Regions from separate parts of the Homo sapiens genome. Here all the other regions are linked to region 3. Evidence: promoter capture Hi-C in 16 types of primary human blood cells and fetal thymus (Javierre and others, 2016). All regions are on one chromosome and are shown on one strand. Each heading gives the region's core, a stretch centred on a gene start or on the middle of the fragment in contact. The rest is flanking DNA. Distances are from core to core; before and after follow the strand shown. Region 1 overlaps FAF1 (Fas associated factor 1). Region 2 overlaps FAF1 (Fas associated factor 1). Region 3 holds the start of LINC01562 (long intergenic non-protein coding RNA 1562).

Evidence for each region. Contacts are between HindIII fragments. The CHiCAGO score rates a contact against its expected background, and 5 or more counts as called.
Region 1: a contact is called between a fragment that was not itself captured here and the fragment with the promoter of LINC01562 in region 3, in 2 of 17 cell types (total CD8 T cells and erythroblasts). The highest score is 5.4, in total CD8 T cells.
Region 2: a contact is called between a fragment that was not itself captured here and the fragment with the promoter of LINC01562 in region 3, in 1 of 17 cell types (total B cells). The highest score is 5.8, in total B cells.

What each region holds. Positions count from the first base shown.
Region 1 is chr1:50,698,581-50,701,280 of GRCh38, forward strand. All of the region lies in intron 7 of FAF1 (Fas associated factor 1), which reads right to left. Among named protein-coding and RNA genes, the nearest start is that of FAF1-AS1, 260 kb to the left of the region's middle. RefSeq lists enhancers at 943-2,534, 1,000-1,665, 1,666-2,330. The HindIII fragment of the contact is 217 bases long and covers 1,164-1,380 here.
Region 2 is chr1:50,719,540-50,722,239 of GRCh38, forward strand. All of the region lies in intron 6 of FAF1 (Fas associated factor 1), which reads right to left. Among named protein-coding and RNA genes, the nearest start is that of FAF1, 240 kb to the right of the region's middle. The HindIII fragment of the contact is 7,975 bases long and covers 1-2,700 here.
Region 3 is chr1:51,233,836-51,236,535 of GRCh38, forward strand. It overlaps LINC01562 (long intergenic non-protein coding RNA 1562), which reads right to left and starts at 1,261. Exons shown (of 2, transcript NR_147076.1): 1 at 1,130-1,261. RNF11 (ring finger protein 11) reads left to right here and starts at 2,438. Exons shown (of 3, transcript NM_014372.5): 1 at 2,438-2,700. RefSeq lists a silencer at 2,223-2,700. The HindIII fragment of the contact is 11,293 bases long and covers 1-2,110 here.

The DNA.
Region 1 (2,700 bases), core at 22-2,521, 540 kb before region 3:
TTTTTTGCAGTGAGTTTTTCTTAATCTTTCATATTTTTTCTTGAAATGTTTTTCTCCCCAAGGATATCAATTCATTAATGCCTCATTACTTACAAATTTCATTGTATATTTTGCTGGTGGAAGGTTTGGGAATTCTCCTTATATCCCTCCTCACCCTATAACTTACATTTCAATGAGCACTCCCAAAGTATGAGTACATTAATATGAATCAAATTTTATTTTAAATATATAAAAGGCATGCTACCTTCTTAAATGAAGTCTTTAAGAAATAAAAAAGATTTTTGGGGTTGCTTGTGCATTTCTGTGTTTTATTTTCTAAAAATGTAATTAAAACTTATTGACATAAAAAGCTTATTGATGCAATATGCCTTTTAAAATATAAATTCTAGACATTAATTTGAAGAGACGATACAAACTTTAAGAAGACTATGAAACATTTACAATTATCATGATGAACTATTGGTATGATTTTGTTGTATTCTTTGATAATAGCTATAATTAAAATTAAAATGAACATGGTGGCGGTAATATATGCCATCAAACAAAAGTAAACAATGCCACTAAAATATATCACAAGAATTAAATTTAGAACTACAAAAACATAAAAAGCAGGTGATGTATATTCCTAAATTTGATTCCTTGTATCCTAACCCACATAGTTTACAATAAGAACTAATTATTTCACAGTCTTAGTATTCCAAATTACAGTACTATACATGAACAGCTTTAAGGATAAGGAATAACTATAAATTTGTACAAACTGGACAGGTTTTTTTAATCTCATAACTTTGGTTAATAATCAGAATTATGACAACAGAACTGTGTGAAAATATTGTTTGAAAGCATATTCCAAAGTAAGATTATTAATTATACAACTGCAATTCACACTTAATGTACTTTATTACATTACATATTTTTATAGGACCATCTAGAGATTTGCAAAAAATGGTTGGCTCAAATAAATGGTTCTCTTTTAAGTGCATTTTATCCCTTTAGGTTCACACAATAACAGCAATATATTTTTAAAGTATATATTTTACTCAAAAAATACATAAGTAAGTCAGAAACCAAAAGCTAACAGATGTGTGACTTCTAATTAGTTATAATAATCTCTGCTTCAATGCCATTAGAATGAGCCTTCCTTTTCTTTTGAAAACTAAAAAAGCTTTCCTTTGAATTTTAAACTGTCAGGGTGCTTCAAAGTCAATGTACAAAATCTGCTTTGATTAAAATTTTAGACATCTACAGTGATAACTTTATGAAAGGAAAATATTAAATTATAATTATCCTAAACAGACACAGTCTTGTGAAACTAACCCTACATTCATGTTAAAACACAAAGAGTTGAATATAATGAATTTGATTCATCCTCGGACACAAAGCTTCACCACAGTAAACTCAGTCAACTGTTGCTCTTGCGCCTATATTCATGGTGCTTAAATAGCGCACTTTAAAACAAAAAAAACTCCAATTGGCTTTTCATACATCCACCCTCCCCAAAAATAACGCACTTGAAAAACTCAAATGATATGAAAGGCTTCAAGGCCTCTTTTCTCCCTTTCATACCCCCCTTTTTTTTTTTATTTCTGTTTGCAGTAATCTGCCTTTCTCTTTCTCATTGCTACAGAGCAAGCGAGGAGGCTCAGAGCTTTGAAAAGGGGGCTGTGTGTAATGGGTCCACTAGAATTAATTTACTTGCACCAAATCCATTGAGCACAGAGGTTCTTTTCCCCCCTCTCTCTCTCTCTTCTCAAATCATTTGGAGTCGAACGCAGCCCCCGGCCTTTGTAATTCTAGTAAAGCACTTAAAGTGCACAGTAGGTGTTCATGAGGACCATCTGGTCAAAAGCAAAACAAGCTGCTGATTTTGCCTTTGAATAGAATGAAGCAAGTGTGAATTAGTCTCTTCAATTAGCACTATTACAACCTGTCAAGTGCATATTGTAAAACAGGATTATTACAGTATTGGTCACCAGTGCAATTATTTACTCTCTGCCTTTTCTTGCATATAAAAAAATCTTATGTTTATTAGTTTCTGATAACTGAACGGAATTTCTCTTAACCCAGGCATTTCAAAACTACCAACACATAAATCACAGATGATGAAATGTGGTCAGCTATCATGTTTGATACACATATCTTAAGTAACAAAAGGCTAAAGACTGTTCTTAATTCTTAAAATGTCATTGCTTCTATCGTCTTGAAATGCAGGTAGACAAATACTTATATGGGCCAAAAAAGATATCCAATCCAGATTATTCTAAAATAGTTCCAGAGAGGGGAAAAGACTTGTCAGTTCCAAAGAGCTGCATTATAAATATTAAATTTATTACTTCAGGGGATAATTTGTTAAGAATCACAGGAAACCTCAATATTTATAAAATGATCCCTACTGATTTATATTCATTTGAAGTGGTATGATTTCAACAGATCTCAGTTTTCAAATGCAACTTGAAACTAATAATATATATGCATATTTAAAAGATGCATAATCGTCTTTTCTGAAAGCTGAATAAAGGCTTGAATTCACTGCCCAGTTGCAGAAGAAATTATCTCTTTCATTCTTGCTAAAATGTCATTCGTGATTTCAAATTTTAAAAAATCAAACTATAATATATGTTAATTAAATTGGTTCATTCTAATTGATCCAATATATGCCATTTATCTTGCAGTAAAAACAAACCACTTACACTTTTAATT
Region 2 (2,700 bases), core at 81-2,580, 510 kb before region 3:
TAGTGATATATTGGATACATCAAAATGTATTAACCAAAGTATGTAAAATTAATCAAAATGTGGTAATTAGTGATGATAGTGATATATTGTGATGCATCAAGTAGTACATGGCAAAACTGTCAAAACACAATTCTAACCATCTAGACAAAATTTGAAAAAAGCAAAGAAATATTTATAGACATATCAATTTTTGTTTCCTAGAGTAGTGACCAAGTTTCTGACTATCCATTAAATCAACCGTAGAGAATACCCGCAGTTCTTTTTCAAAATGTGATGCTAACAAGCTAATCTCAGTAGTCACTGAACTATCAATAGGCAATAAACTGTATAAATGGGTTTGGTACCTCACTCCAATTAGATGTGTTGTGATTTCCATCAGTGCTTTAATTGAGGACAAGTTTCTTCTTTCATCCAGAGTGCATAACTTTTGGGAAATGTCCTCTTCTTAAAATTAAACACACTTTTTTTTTTTTTTTCTTTGAGAAGGAGTCTTGTTCTGCCACCTAGGCTGGAGTGCAGTGGTGCAATCTTGACTCACTGCAATCTCCACCTCCTGAGTTGAAGCAATTGTCTTACCTCAGCCTCCCAAGTAGTTGGGATTACAGGCATGCACCACCACACCCAGCTAATTTTTGTATTTTTAGTAGAGACGGGGGTTTGCCATGTTGGCCAGGCTAGTCTCAAACTCCTGACAGGTGATCCGCGTGCCTTGGCCTCCCAAAAAATGAGCCACTTTTAAGTGGCCCCTTATTAAAAAACATTTACCAGCCCAGTACTTTCAAATTTCACTTTTAAAAATCTAACAATGATGCTCACTACAATTAAATTTAAGTTGAACAGTAATCACAATGTACTTGAAATACTGATTATATCAATTTATTCTTGAGAAATGAAATTACTTTAAGAATAATATATCAAATCATGCATTGTTCTAATTACAATACTGATAACTTAAAATACTTTTACGGATAAATATTGACGGAGTTCAGGAAATGCCAACCCCACAATATGACACTTTGGTATGCTGCTTACTTTGAACTGAGGGCACTTGGGGAACAGCTGACACAAACACAGGCTTTCTATGAGCTCTCCTTATCTGCCTAAAGACAGATCCTCCAAAAGGAACTCAACTGTCCTGAACCCCCACCCTAGGAATCTTATCAACCAGGGAAAATTAACTCATGTTACAGAAAAGGAGACTGAAGGCTGAAACCATACCCAGACAGATGATCACCTCTTCTTCTGAGAGCTACTCTGAGACCATTTTTACTACCTGAGAGACCTTTTATTTGTATAATAAGACAACCTTTATTCACCATACATTTCCTCTCCTTACCCTCTCATAACTTGTATCATACCATCCACCAGAAGCCCCACGCTCCTATTCCTTTCTGTAGCTCAGGATGCCATATAAGTTTCAATCATTTGATCATTCTTCGAGTCTCATATTTTGTGGGGCTTCTATGTGTACATATATAATTAAGTATGTTTTCCTCTTGTTAATCTGTTTTATGTAAATGCAATTTGTACCCAGCCAAGACCCCAGAGGGTGGAGGGAAAACATTTATTGCTTCCCTACAATATCATTCATGAAAATAACAAAAAGTTGTTTCGTAAAGCACTTTGGGAAATTTTTTTTTTTTCTTTTGAGAGGAGTCTCACTCTTATCACCACGCTGGAGATAAGTCTCACCACCAGGCTGGAGATAAGTGAGACGAGTCTCACTCTTATCACCAGCGATCTCTGCTCGCTGCAACCTCCGCCTCCCAGGTTCAAGCAATTCTCCTGCCTCAGCCTCCAGAGTAGCTGGGACTACAGGCACGCACCACTACGCCCAGCTAATTTTTGTATTTTTAGTAGAGACGGGGTTTCACCATATTGGCCAGGATGATCTCGATCTCACGACCTCAGGATCCGCCTGCGTCGGCCTCCCAAAGTGCTGGAATTACAGGTGTGAGCCACCGTGCCCGGCCGGAAAAAAAAATTACAACTGAATCATTCAGACATTTACTTACATATATAAAGTTTTCAAAAAACTTATTTACAGGCCACTTTAAGGTCTCATTTTCTTTTTATTAAATCATTTTTTGTTTGTTGGTTTTGGAGACAGGGTCTCACTCTGTCACCCACGCTGGAGTCAGTGGTACAATCTCAGCTCATAACAACATCAACCTCCTGGCCTCAAGCAATCCTTCCATCTCAGCCTCCCAAGTAGCTAGGACTACAGGCACGTGCCACTATGCCTGGCTGATTTTTTACTTTTTTGTAGAGATGAGGTTCCACTATGTTGCCCAGCCTGGTCTCAAACACCTGGGTTCAAGCAATCCTTCCACCTTAGCCTCCCAAAGTGTTGAGATTACAGTAGGAAGCCACTGTGCCTGGCCAGGTCTCCTTTTCTGCTGCACTGCTAAAACCTCACAAATACTGATCACTAAAAAAGCCAGCATGAAGAAGTCACACTCACAGAAAAATCATTTCAAAAGAAATTGTAGCAAATTATTTGGAGATATTAAAAAGTTAAAAACCTACTGTTTTTTTCTACTTTGAAAACAAAAATACTTAGCCACAGGAGTCCCCCACTGGCAATTGCTCATCTATTCCTGAAAGAGCATCATCGCTTCATCCATTCACTTAAACAACTTACTGAGCATCTACAAGGGCCAAAAAGCACTGTTTCTAGTTTACTTCATAAATGAACTA
Region 3 (2,700 bases), core at 11-2,510:
GCAACATGGCAAGACTTCGTCTCTACCAAAAACAAAAACAAATGCAAGGCATGGTGGTGTGCATCTGTAGTTCTAGTTACTGGAGAGGCCTGAAGCAGGAGGATCACCTGAGCCCAGGAGGTTGAAGCTGCAGTGAGCCTCGATCAAGCCAGCCTGGGTGACAGAGTGAGACCCTGTCTCCAAAACAAACAAACAATGTCTACAAATTCTAGCACTGTGTAAATATTATGTCAAATAATTGTATAAATTATTATTAATAAAAATTTCTTTAGGTTTGACAATAATTTGTGGGGTAAATTTTCTCACTTTGTAAAAATTCCAGGGTACCTCTGATTTCTGGTAAATTTAGCCAATCATAAATTAAATGAGTTCTTGGAAGCTCAACAATTCCAAAACCAAAATTGTGAGTCAGTTTGTTCTTTCTTTCCTTCTTTCCTTTCTTTTTCTTTTTCTTTCTTTCTTTCTTTCTTTCTTTTCTTTCTTTCTTTCTTTTCTTTCTCTTTTCTCTTTCTCTTTCTCTCCCTTCCTTCTTTCCTTCCTTCCTGCCTCCCTTCTCTCTCTCTCTCTTTCTCCTTCCTTTTTTTTTTGAGACTGAGTCTTACTCACTCCCTCGCCCACGCTAGAGTGCAGTGGCACAATCTGGGCTCACTGCGCTGCAACTTCCACCTCCCAGGTTCAAGCGGTTTTCCTGCCTCACCCTCCCGAGTAGCTGGGACTACAGGCGTGCACCAGCACACCTGGCTAGTTTTTGTATTTTTAGTAGAGATGGGGTTTCACCATGTTGGCCAGGCTACTCTCGAATCCCTGACCTCAAGTGATCCACCCGCCTTGACCTCCCAAATTGCTGGGATTACAGACGTAAGCCACCACGCCTGGCCCAAAATTATGAGTCTTTTCAAAAATTTTATATCAAAAAGGTGATATTTAATGTGGAATTTGAGTGCATTTAAATAAGATAGTGACTTCGTAGAATAGGGACTGCAGAGTAAGAGTGTTCAGACCCATTCGAGTTTAATATAGCCCTACCTCTAAGAATCCTTTCTGTTCCTCACTCAAATGAACTAATTGCTGTCTTTCAGTTCCTCTAAAAACCTTGGGGTCCGTGGCAGGGTGTGGGCTTAGGACTCACCTGATTACTTGTCTTCCCAGGTGGTCTCTGGGCTCTATCAGGAACAAGCCAGGTATGATCATCCTTTTCCCCAGTCCTTAGCGTGGGGTCTGGTATACACACGCACACACAACTTCAGTAAATGGTGAATGAAACGAAAGGCAGTCAAGATCCACCTGTTGAATGAACGTCTATCAGGAGCACTGTCATCCTTCTTGCTTCCTTCTTTTGCATATGTTGTTTGAGCTGCTCATTCAACCAAGGAGAGAGCATACTCTACCTTGGGCAGTGTGCCAGCCTTGCACAGAGGGACAGATGATTCAGCTTGATCAGGCTGTGACAGAGAAAAGCTCAGGGTCTGAGAGCACACAGGATGCGACTAACCCAGACTGGAGGGTCAGGAGAGTCTCCCCAGGGGAAATGAAGTTGCATCCAGAAGGATTCCTGAGAATAATGATTAGCCTGATGAGAAGCAGAAAGGTTGGGAGTGGAGGGAAGTGGGTTTCTGTGAGAGAAACAATATGGACAAAGGCCCCAGGCAGAGGCAATAGTATTCCAGATAACGAAAAGCATTTTAGAGAGTCTAGTTTAGAATTTGTGAAGGAGGTGACAATGCTGCTAATGAGATTGAAAGGGAGTCAGATTTGTAAACCATTTAAGGATTGTCTTAAGGACAGCCTTGAGGAGACACTGAAGGTTTTAACAGGAGAATGACATGATCCGATTTAAATTTTAAAAAGATAACTCTGTCAACTGTGCCAACAGTGAATTGGATGTGGGCAATGATGAACTCAGGAACAGCTGAGAGTCTATTGCAGAAGCCAAGGTGAGAGATGATGGTGGCTTGGACTTTGGTGCTGGGACTGGAAAGAAATGAACAATCTGATATACAACTGGAAGAATAATCTCTCTGGCTGTGATGTGGAAGGATAAGGACGTGATTGGACAGGCAGGGATGGTTCAGTAACGAGCTAGGACTTTATTGTGAAGGGATAAAGGGGAAGCTTTTAACATTTTAATCATGGGACTGATCCATTCCGATATGGGTTTATATAAATAGACCGCTTGGCGGAGGGTGGTGAGAAGACTGTCAGGCAGTGCACAGGTAAGAACTGAGCCCTAGACGGGGCAGGAGCAATGAATGTGGGGAGGCGCGGGAGACGGGAGATTGGTTTCGGAGCCAGGTACGGAGCCAAGCAGTCAGAGAGAAGCAAAAATTGACGCAGCACCGAGAACAGCTGCTAGTGGAGAGGGGGATGGGCGCCGCCGGAGCCGCCCTCGCCTCCTGGCGCCGGGGGCGGGACCAGAGCACGCACGGCGCGATGACGCAGTGCCCGAGCCGGCCTCGTTCTGGCTGCCGCCGTCTCGCTGAGGCGGAGTAGGATGAGGCCCGCGGCCGTGGCTCCGGCGTCGGCGGGGGCAGCAGCAGCTGAGGCAGCAGCTGAGGCAGCCGCGACGGCCGCGCCCCCCCCCGCTGACCTGGATTAGGCCCAGCAGCTCCGTGGCCGCCGCCGCCCCGCGGGGGGGCGGGGTGGGGAAGTGCTTCGTCTCCCCGCCCCCCCCCCCCCATCGCTGCCTCGCAGGAGGCGAAC